2 separate regions of the Homo sapiens genome follow, and region 2 is linked to region 1. Evidence: promoter capture Hi-C in human tissues and cell types (Jung and others, 2019). All regions are on one chromosome and are shown on one strand. The core of a region is centred on a gene start or on the middle of the fragment in contact, and the rest is flanking DNA. Distances in the headings are between cores, read along the strand shown.

What was found. Contacts are between HindIII fragments. The study calls those that stand out against the background at their distance.
Region 2: a fragment that was not itself captured here is called in contact with the fragment with the promoter of ERRFI1 in region 1 in 1 of the 25 tissues and cell types used here (stomach).

The regions. Positions count from the first base shown.
Region 1 is chr1:8,024,035-8,029,240 of GRCh38, reverse strand. ERRFI1 (ERBB receptor feedback inhibitor 1) reads left to right here and starts at 2,932. Exons shown (of 4, transcript NM_018948.4): 1 at 2,932-3,083. ERRFI1-DT (ERRFI1 divergent transcript) reads right to left here and starts at 2,748. Exons shown (of 3, transcript NR_185980.1): 1 at 1,820-2,748; 2 at 1-14. RefSeq lists silencers at 2,847-2,896, 3,017-3,116. The HindIII fragment of the contact is 15,275 bases long and covers 1-5,206 here.
Region 2 is chr1:8,595,381-8,600,586 of GRCh38, reverse strand. All of the region lies in intron 4 of RERE (arginine-glutamic acid dipeptide repeats), which reads left to right. Among named protein-coding and RNA genes, the nearest start is that of SNORD128, 100 kb to the right of the region's middle. RefSeq lists an enhancer at 1,656-2,155. The HindIII fragment of the contact is 8,255 bases long and covers 1-5,206 here.

The sequences.
Region 1 (5,206 bases), core at 1,683-4,182:
AGCTTCTTCTTACACTGAAAGAAGGGCAAGTGAAAAGTGACAATTTGGGTCAATGTGATGCAAGTCTAACGTTTTAGATGTTGAGTTCTATTAAAAAAATCAACTAATATAAATTCCTTGGAAAATGGCCTCAAAATTAAGCAGACTGTGAGAGATATAAAAAACACTGTCTTACTTTAAATGTCATGCTTTTCTGGAGATAATTTAAAACAAATTGGGTTCAGGAAAAAGAGACTATTTCCCCGAATCTCTGGTGTAGTGTTCTAATCTATTAAAGGTCAATGAATAATCACTTAATAAACACAACATGCTAGTATTACTTCAAGATGCTTAGCGTTTTGCTTTTAAACTCTTCCCAAGATGTCCTACAATATTATTGACATATCAATGTTATTATAACACATCATTAACAGACTATTAGATAAAAAATTTGTGGGGTGTAAGTCTTCTCATGTAATTCTTCCACAGCTGAGAAAGCCATATTATATAACTGCAAGCTAAACACAGCAAACTAGTGGCTAAACAGGTTTTCCCCAAAAAATGAATAAATCAAGTTTATTTTGCAAGTTGTTTAAAATAGAAAAATCAGATTAATCACATATTACTCATGGGATTTTATGATTTTTGATAATTTACCAAAACATTAGCACATCATACAGCTCACAACTGTAGAGTGAGTATCCTGTTGATCTTCTTTCTCTAAAGAAGGGGTGTGTTTGATGGTTGCTCTGGTGATTATCACTGTTTTATGAATAGGGGAATGTAAAAGCACGCCAATAAGGCCGAAGCACAAATTACAACTGTATTGTAGTGACTTGAAATAGTATAGCCAGGGCTCCTTTCAGATGAAACTTGAGCTCCTTTAGGTGCCCATTCAGTAAATCCTGTCCCGTGAGGTTTGAAAAGATGTACCCTGGCAAGTTCTCACACTCATCTTTTTTTTACACTGATAACAGCATATGGGTAAGCCACAAACATAAATGACGCCAAAATGGGAGGAAAATCGGGACAGATTTTCTTTGGATCAAAAAACCTAGTTAGTTGGTAAGGAACTCTGCAATTAGTTGTGACTCATTTCCATCATCCTAAAATAATACTAAATGAATGGCTGTAAGAAGATAGGTTAACTGAATTGTTGACAAATGGCATAGGCATGAAAATGACCCAACAGCCCCTTGTAAGCCAGAAGAGCCATCAGAAAGGAAGCCAGATTTCTCTCTGCAAAACGTTCGTTTGTTTTGCAAGTGAGAGAGGGCAAAGATACTTCAGATTCTTTTTCTTTTTTTTTTCCTTTTCGTGCTTAAGGCCTTGAATTCAAAATTAGGCCTTTGAATTAAATTAAAAAGAATGTAAGTAAATAATAGTGGGGGAAAGGCAAATCATTTCATGGGGTGTAGAGTTAATAGTTAACCTGATAATAAGGCCAGAATCTCATTCCATATGTTAAACTACCCCAATTAGCTAGTGATCAGTGTCTAACTATCAGGCATTATTGCTGAAGTGCAAGCAGGGGCTCCAGGAGGCTAGAGGTCAGCGACAGGTCTCTGGGCTCTCCCAACAGAGGACCAGCCAGGGAATTTGTTCTAGTTAAAACTAGAGGGTTTCCGTCTGTTTGCTTTTTTTCTGACTTTAGTCACTCTTGGTTTGTTATCATTTGTATTATTTATTTTACGGTTAAACTATAAGCCTAAGTTGCATCACTGGCGCCCCGAGAAACCTCCTCCCACAGGCCCGCTGGGGCTTTGTCCTTGGGCATCCGTGGCCTCTCCAAAGCCAAAAGACGTCGGGGCCAGCTCAGGTCGCCTGAGTAAACACAAACCTGGGAAGCCGAGGGCCCCCTAAGTCAGTAGTGAGGGAGCTCCTCCTGGAAACCCACAGCGACCCTGAAGGGCTCAACCTCGAGCAGGACCTTTCCTCCATATTCCAACGCAGTCAGAGGAGCCCTGGGTTCCCCCCGCGTAGCCTCACCGCCCCACGCCGGCCCACTCTGTCCCCTCATCCTCCCTTGCTGTCCTACTCTGTCCCTCGCCATCCCTCACAGTCCCACACTGTCCCTCACCGCCCCTCACAGTACCTCACCGTCCACTGTCCCACACTGTCCCTTGACATCCTTCATTGTCCCTCACCGCCCCTCACAGTGCCTCACTGTCCACTGTCCCATACTGTCCCACACTGTCCCTTGCCATCCTTCACTGTCCGAGTCCCTCACAGTCCCAAAGTCCCTCACTGTCCCACAGTCCCTCACCGTCCCACACTGTCCCTCACTGTCCTACACAGTCCCTCACTGTCCCTCATCGTCCCGCACTGTCCCTCACCGTCCCACACCGTCTCTCATCGTCCCGCACTGTCCCACACAGTCGCTCACCGGTCCACACGGTCCCTCATCATCCCACACTATCCTTCACTGCCCCACACAGTCCCTAAGTGTCCCTCACTGTCCCTCCCACGCCGCAAGCCCAGTCGAGAGCGGCTCCCCTCTCCCCCTCCAGGGCTTCTTCGGCCCACACGGCCAGCGGCGGCCCGCGGAGAGGAAAAAACACACAATCTTGCCCGGAGCCTGAATTTATGGGAAATCCCGCGCGAAGCGCGATGTGCCCTCAGTTCGGGCAGGAACAGCGGCCGAGGCCCGGGTCGCCGCGGGCTTCTGAGGAAAGCTCGGCGTTGAGAGGCTCCCAGGGCTGCCGCACGGCTCAGGCAGAGGAGCGGAGCTGCGGCCGCGGTCAGCCCGGAGACGCCTCTCCGGGAGACAAAGCCGGCTCCCTGCAGCGCCGCGATACGCCACGGTGGGCCCGGCGCAACGCCTCGGCCACGGCATCGCCCCTTTAAGCGGCGCGCGCCCTGATTGGCTGCGGGAGGAGGCGGGGCGGGACGCGGCGACCTCACGGCCCGGCGGCCTATGCTATATATAGAGGCGGCGGCGGCAGCCGCGGCGACGGCGGTCCGGTGCGAGGCAGAGTGCTAGCGGGAGCGCGAGCCAGCAAGAGGCGCCTGCGCGATGTCCGGGCCCCTGAGCCCGCGGCGCTGAGCCAGCCGGGACGGACATGCGCGGGAGGGCGCCGCGGGGCAGCCGCCGCTCCTCCGGGGTAAGGGGCCTGGCGCGCTGAGGGGGTGGGGAGGGCCACGCAGCGCTCCGTTCCCTCAGGGGGCCCCGCGCCGGGCGCCGGGATCCAGGCGGCTCCCCGACGCGAGGGCGGGGGCGTGGAGGGCGCGGGGAGGGTCGCCGCGACGCGGAGTCTCTGGGATGGAGGGAGAGGCCGGCCGGTCGCTCGCGGGCTTCTCCCCATTGAGGTGTGGAGAGCGGGACCCTCCCCGGCGGCGCAGCCCGGGCCTGGGGACGCCGCGAAGTGCCGGCGCCCGCCGCCTTCTCCACGCCGGCTGTGGTCGTCGCGCGGCCCCTCGGCTGGCCGGGGCCATGCACCCGAGCGCCCGGGATACGTCCCCGCAGCACCGGGACCGCAGGAGCGGACGGGGGTTCGGGAGCGGCGAGCATGAAGGTCCTCGTCCCGCAGCCTGCGCTCGCGGGGTTGCCCGGCGGGGATGAGCGTCTTCGGGCCTGGGGGCTTGTTTGATTTTTTTTTTATTTGTAAAAAGGGGGTTGCGTTGTCTTGTTCACACCGTGTACCCGTAAATCCTGTCTTGAAAGCTGGGGTGGGAGGCTCGGCGATTGCTTGCGGTGGTTGGTACCGGTTCTCTGGCGGTCAGCCCCGCTCCCTCTGCCTAATCTCACAGCGACGATGGTAATGCCGAAATCAGTATTTAAAAATTCGTCTAAGCTGTTCTGAACTCTTCCTTCTCTCCTAGAAACGTGATTCTTTGCTCTGAGTGTCTTAAGTACGGCTTTGAATGGAATCGGACTGCAAAATTATGTGTTCAAGACGTGAATGCTTATTGGGAATTTTGTGTGTGTATTTATATGTATATCATAGCCCTGTACAAATTAGATGACTCTTTAACCGTGAATGGTGCTGTATTAGTGCTTGCTAAGTCTTTATTAGGATTTCATCATTGCTTGAAAGAAACCAGTCTCTTACCTGATAAAAATATGAATAGATGGTTAGTCATAAACTTAAGTCAGAATGGAGACTGTAGCTTTAAAAGAGATGTGTCGGTGACTTGAGGTACACCTGCAACACAGGTAGGGCAAGACTGGTTTCTAGGCAACTGTCAGGGGTGAAGAAAGGTGAGGTTAAAATGCCCTTTTTTTCCCTTCCAGAACAAATGTTCAACCTTTTATAAATGTGTAAGAATGCAGTGGGTACACACATTTGTTGAGACTGAACATCCCAAGTTCACCGTACCTATTTTTTTAACTGCATTTCTTTTCTTATATTTCTGTAATTACAATATACAGTTTTAAGTGAAATTTTATTTGAACAGAGACCAAAGACAGGCTAGGTATCAGCAAATGATCAAATTTTGCAAAGACCAAAATAAAAGAAGCTGGTTTCTTGCTAACATGCTGGCTATAATTGGTTACCAATATGTTATCAAGCAAGTTCTTTTCCAGATATTAGCAAGTTTGAAGAAAAATAACAAAGGATTTAGCATGGACTTCAGAAACTATTTGTCATTCCCTTTGCTTCAAGCAGAAGTTTATTTTCACCTGTGTGTTCCAGGGGACACTCGATAATAAGTGATAGAGGTCTTAGACTAACGATTTATAACCTGACAGATATATTAGATTGTAAACTCCTTAAGGGTAGGCACTCTGCCTTGTATAGCTTCTATCTTATGCAGCCTTGCACATAGTTGATGTTGATAAATAATTGCATGAAAGCATGTTTTACCTTTTAAGGCTCAGCAGGATTGGAGCAGTCATTGATAAGGGTTGGAAAGCAAATCTGTTTAATTTTTTTATGGCTGTTATGAAATGCCTGAATTATTGATATTTTTGACGGGTAAAACTGTTGTTTCAATCATCGGTTTTCCTACTTGCAGTTCACAATATATACTGGTCACTCTTTATAAGATTTAATTATGCTTGAGTTTTTGTGTGAAAATACCTCTTGACTGCTGCTTCTCAAAAGTTGAGCTAGATAATACTTCCTTTCTGCTGAAACTAATGGTGGCTTTTCAAAGCAATTTGCGTAAATTACAGGCACAATCTAACATGCTTGAAACTGACCTGATTGTCTGCATACCATCAGATTGCTTTAGAAAGGAGCAGAGGAAGGAAAGGAGGTGTCAGGGGTAACTCCAGGAATTG
Region 2 (5,206 bases), core at 1,597-4,096, 570 kb before region 1:
AATAATGACTGATTTCGCTATCACTTCCCCCTGGCTTTTTCTTTTGTTACTGGCATTGTCTTGGATATATTACAAATATCCACAGATGTCCAGAGAATTGGCACAGCTATTATTATGATTTTCAATCTGCTCTTAAGATACTGAGCAGATTTCTTAACAAACAAGTTGGAAATGCACAAAGATATCTGATGAATTGTTAAAAAATTCTTAAAGAAAAACAGCTGGCAAATGGTAATTGATAGATAGATGTGTTTAATCTGTAGGACTTGAAGTGCTGCTATGGTGTATTAGTCTGTTCTCAGGCCACTAATTAAGACATACGGAGACTGGGTGATTTTTATAAAGGAAAGAGGTTTAATGGACTCTCACAGTTCCATGTGGCTGGGTAGGCCTCACAATCATGGTGGAAGGCAAAGGAGAAGCAAAGGCACATCTTAAATGGTGGCAGACAAGAGAGTTTGTGCAGGGAAACTCCCATTTATGAAACCATCAGATGTTGTGAGACGTATTCTCTACCATGAGAACAGTGTGAGGGAAACCGCCGCCGTGATCCATTTATCTCCACCCAGCCCCCGTCCTTGGCACGTGGGCATTATTACAGTTCAAAGTCAGATTTGGGTGGGACACAGCCAACCATATAATATGGTTACTGTGGTTTAAGTAGGCAGACACATCTGTGAGACCAGGAGTTTCTCTACAAATGGATGAGGAATGGCACAGAATCCTAGGTGACAGTTTAAGGATTGCATGGCAGAAAAGGCTCTGTGATTAAATTCTCTGATGTTGTCACTGAGCTGTAAGGCTGGAGATAAGACTGTCTCCTTCTGCTGAAAATAAGAATCAATACTCACTCCTTGATGGGCTAAACTATTAAAAAGAGCCCTTCTTACAATGTTTCATTATCTGGGATTTGCCTCAGCTGGTGATTTGTTGGTGGCACAGGGAGATTTGTGAGGCATTTCATATTAAAATTAGTCAGTAGCCGGTGAATCCCTTTAGATAATTCTCTTCCGTTTTACAGTGCTCCTGAATAGATTTGTGATTTATTTTTGCCTAAGTAGCTTTGTGTTTTTTTGGAATTATTAAAAGAGGGTTGGACATCTATACACTTTTTTTAACCTTGTTTTTCCTCATATTCTCTGTGTTTAACAGTTTAGTATTGGCCTTAGCAAAAAACATCAAATATATTTGCGTGGTACATTGACCTGACACTTGATTAACACACGTTGAACTTGATGTTTTTCCCGTATGAAGGAAGTTATACAAGAAGTTGGCCTTGCTTTTTTCGTTGATTTTAACCGTGGACAGGGTTGGGGTTGTTAATTGTTAGGTGGCTGGTAGGATTTCAGCTCCTCGATTGAAAAAGAAAAACAGCCCATCTCGTGAACCTCAGTGACCAAAAGAAATGGTCACTGTGTCATTTGGGTGCTTGTTGTGTCTCATCCCAGTGTAGTGTGATGGCTAGGGAGCAAAGAGAAGGCGAGCCTCTGAGGGTGACCCCTGCCCCGCTGTCCGCCAGGCTGGGAGAAGTTCTGCAGGAGGTCCTGTCATGGGCAGTGCTTACTGGGCTTGTCAGTTGGAACAGCACAATTGCAGTCTGCTGGGGGATGTTTGCAGCCTTCTGCCTTCTGTCTAAGGAGAGTTAAGACTCTCTACTTCAGTGTTTTGAAGTCAGTGCTGTGGTATATTTACATTCTGCTGGTGGAGACAGTACTGTTCATGAAAGATTTTTTGGTTCAGCCTCAGGAAGAGTATGGGCAAAGCTGTGTTAGAAGACGTTGATCTCTGTAGCAAAACCATGAGGTGAGGCTAAAGAACAGTGTAATCTCACATTTCTGCTTCCCTGAAAAACTCATCAGATTTAAAAATCCTTTTCTCTGGCATGGAGGGGAGAGGGTTGAGTGGGAAGGGAGACTGATTAACAAAGGACAGAAAGAGACAGAGGTCTTTGAAATCCAGATGGTCGACTTCTAGTAACAGAGCATTGGATGTGGTTTCTGTGTGTGGAATCCAGCCCTGGTGGGTGTCCAGCTGCCATGAGAGGCTGTGGAGTGAGGGAGGACCGTCCTGGAAGAAACAGAGTCAGGTCTGGTTCCTGTGTGAGAGTCATTGGAGAGAACCGTGCTGCCTCAGAACGGTGCAACCCACCCAGCACCCAGCTCCGTGACGTTGCTTCTGCTGGAGGGCCGGGAATGCCCTTCACGTCCCACCTGTCACCTGCTGGAATCAGCGCCATCTTCTCATAGGTGGTTAACTGTTTTCTCTTCTCTCCAGTGTGTTCCTGGTTGGATGTTTCCTGTTTCCCCTACCAGATTCACAGCTCGTATGTTCGTTCCTGCTTAGTCCATGGGAGGGAGTCTGGGAGCAAGAGCGAGGTGGCAGTACAGCAGGCTGGCTTGCTGTACGCTTTATAATTCCAGCGAGGAAATCTTTCGAATACACACTTGCATTCTGTCACAGTAATGTGGAGAACACATCTAGGGTTTTCAGCTTGTTTTATTCAGCTGCCTGGAGTAGTTAAAATTTTTCTGAGCATATTGCTTCCCCCAACCCCATGAGGCGGGAAAGAGATGTTTAGAGACATATTTCTCTTTTAGGAAGAAATGCAGAACCACTGAGACCTGGACAACTGTTGGTCTTATTTTCTGCTTGGATGAGATACCTTCCTGCTATTTCTTAAGGAAATATAGTTATCCATCCTCACAGTCACAGCTGAATACCAGGCAGTTGGTTGAGTAGTGAGTTCTTCTGGAAGATGGACGGGAAAACTGTCAACAGGATTGATCATTAAAAAAAAAAAATCCAGTGAAATGTTTATTTAAAAAATTAATTGAACTCCCTTGCTTTTAGAGACTTGACTATTGTCCAGATCAGATCTTGTTTCGAGTGTGCACATTCATATATAACAGGGCTGTGAATCAGACTGGGAAAGCCTGTGCTGCAGACATTCTTCCCTCCCCATGACAGCAAACACAGGACAGGGGGTTCTTAGCACGTTGTCAGATAAATTCTTTTCTATCTGCGTGTTTTAATTATGGAATTTTAATGTTGATTTTCATTCTGTTTTCCAATCCCATATATTTTTTCCTTCTCATTGGCTTATTGTGTGGGTTATCATTTCAGTGACCTGGTTTGACAAGAGGCAACACAAATTTCTTTGAGAATTCAAATGTCCATTTAAAAATTAGCATCAGGGGCTGGGCACAGTGGCTCACACCTGTAATCCTGGCACTTTGGGAGGCTGAGGCAGCGGGTGGATTGCTTGAGTTCAGGAGTTCGAGACCAGCCTGGGCAACATGGCAAAACCCCGTCACTATAAATAATATAAAAATTAGCTGGGCATGGTGGCACACACCTCTAGTCCCAGCTGCTTAGGAGGCTGAGGCCAGAGGGATCAGTTGAACCTGGGATGCTGAGGCTGCAGTGAGCCACGATCACGCCACTGCGCTCTGGCCTGGGTGACAAAGGAAGTCCCTGTCTCAAAAAAAAAAAAAAATCAGCATCAGTACAAATTAAATGATTAAGCATTTGCTGTTTTAACTACATATGAGAGAGATAACCCAGTTAACTTTTCCTTTTATTGGCTCGTGCCCTGGGCATCTGTCATGTTAATGCTTTTGACCTTTCTTAAAGATTATTAAAGGTGAAATTTCTTGCAGGTCAGGGGGATTTGTACTTGAACACCACCAGGTACCTTGTGGCAGCGCTGTTTCCAAAGATAGACACGCTGTGTGGTAAATCTTTTCAGTTAATTCATTAGAGAAAATTGTTTTCTGGCCAGGTGTGTTAGCTCACACCTATAATCCCAGCACTTTGGGGAGTTGGAGATGGGAGGATCACTTGAGGCCAGGAGTTTGAGACCAGCCCTGGCAACTTAGCAAGACCTTGTCTCTACCAGAAAAAAAAAAAAAAAAGCCAGACATGGTAGCTTGTGGCTATAGTCCCAACTACTTGGGAGGCCACAGACAAGAGAATTGCTTGAGCATAGGAGGTCCAGGTTATAGTGAGCTTATGATTGTACTACTATACCCCAGCCTGGGTAACAGAGCAAGACCCTTAGTTAAATTAAAAGAGAGAGAGAAAGAGTAATTTATTTTCCTACAGACTAGGTTTGTCTGTAAGAGAAAATATCAGTGCAATTCACTGGATTTTAATGTCATATTCTGACTTGTGTCTGAGAAACTGATTGGAGATGGTTTGTATTTGGGTCAGCTTTTTAAAAGACAAATCTTATGTCTCATGAATTAAGACTACATGTGTATACACAGCAAAGTGTTTATGAGGCAGAAAGCTTGCTCCTACCAGTTTCTAGAGGAGAGCTATCCTGTTTTTTGCTGCTGCTCAGCCAGCTGATTCTGAACATTCTTACTATTGGTTATTTTTGTACTCAGGGACAGCAAGCTTTTCCTATTAGGGGCCAGATAGTTTTTTCAGTTTTATTTTCTGTATGGCAACTACTCAACTTAGCCATAGACAATTTGTAAACAAATGAGCATGACTGTGTAGCCGTGTTTCAGTGAAACTTTATTTTACTGAATCACTTTATTTCTAGTGGATCAGTAGAGTCCAGGTGGTGTCTGGACATGGCCTGTGGGCCTGTAGTTTGCTGAAGCCTGAGCTGGTATAAACTTTTGGGGATTAGTGCCCTGAAGGAGTCACTCCAAAACTTACTTGCTTTCTTCATTGTAGCCTTGTGCCTGTGTAAGGTTTGAGGGTCATTTGCAGAGTTAGTGGGAATTGCATTTCTTCTTTCCTATATTATTTGAGTTGATGCATCCTTTTTTAAAATATATCTATATCTCTACCAATACATCCCTCTAACCACTCCTCCTTCCATTAATTGTTTTTTGTATAGTGTACTAGTGGATAGGTATTGTAAGAACTCATTTTTACTAATGATCTTTAAGGATTTTTATAACATGTTTAAATGCTAGGAGCAATTAAATATTGCTTAAACATGCTTTTTCATCTTTTTTCTTTGGCAGTTTGTTTCTGAAGGGAAAATATGACAGGAAAATATGTACATAATAAAATACAATTAAAATAATACATTAAAATAAATACATAAAATACATAAATACATAAAAATAAATACATTAAAATAATACATAAAAATAAAACATTAATAATAAAATACATTAAAGTTTGTCTGAATTTTTCTTGTGTGTGTGTACTTTTTTTAATGTTGTAACAAAATATTCAGGAC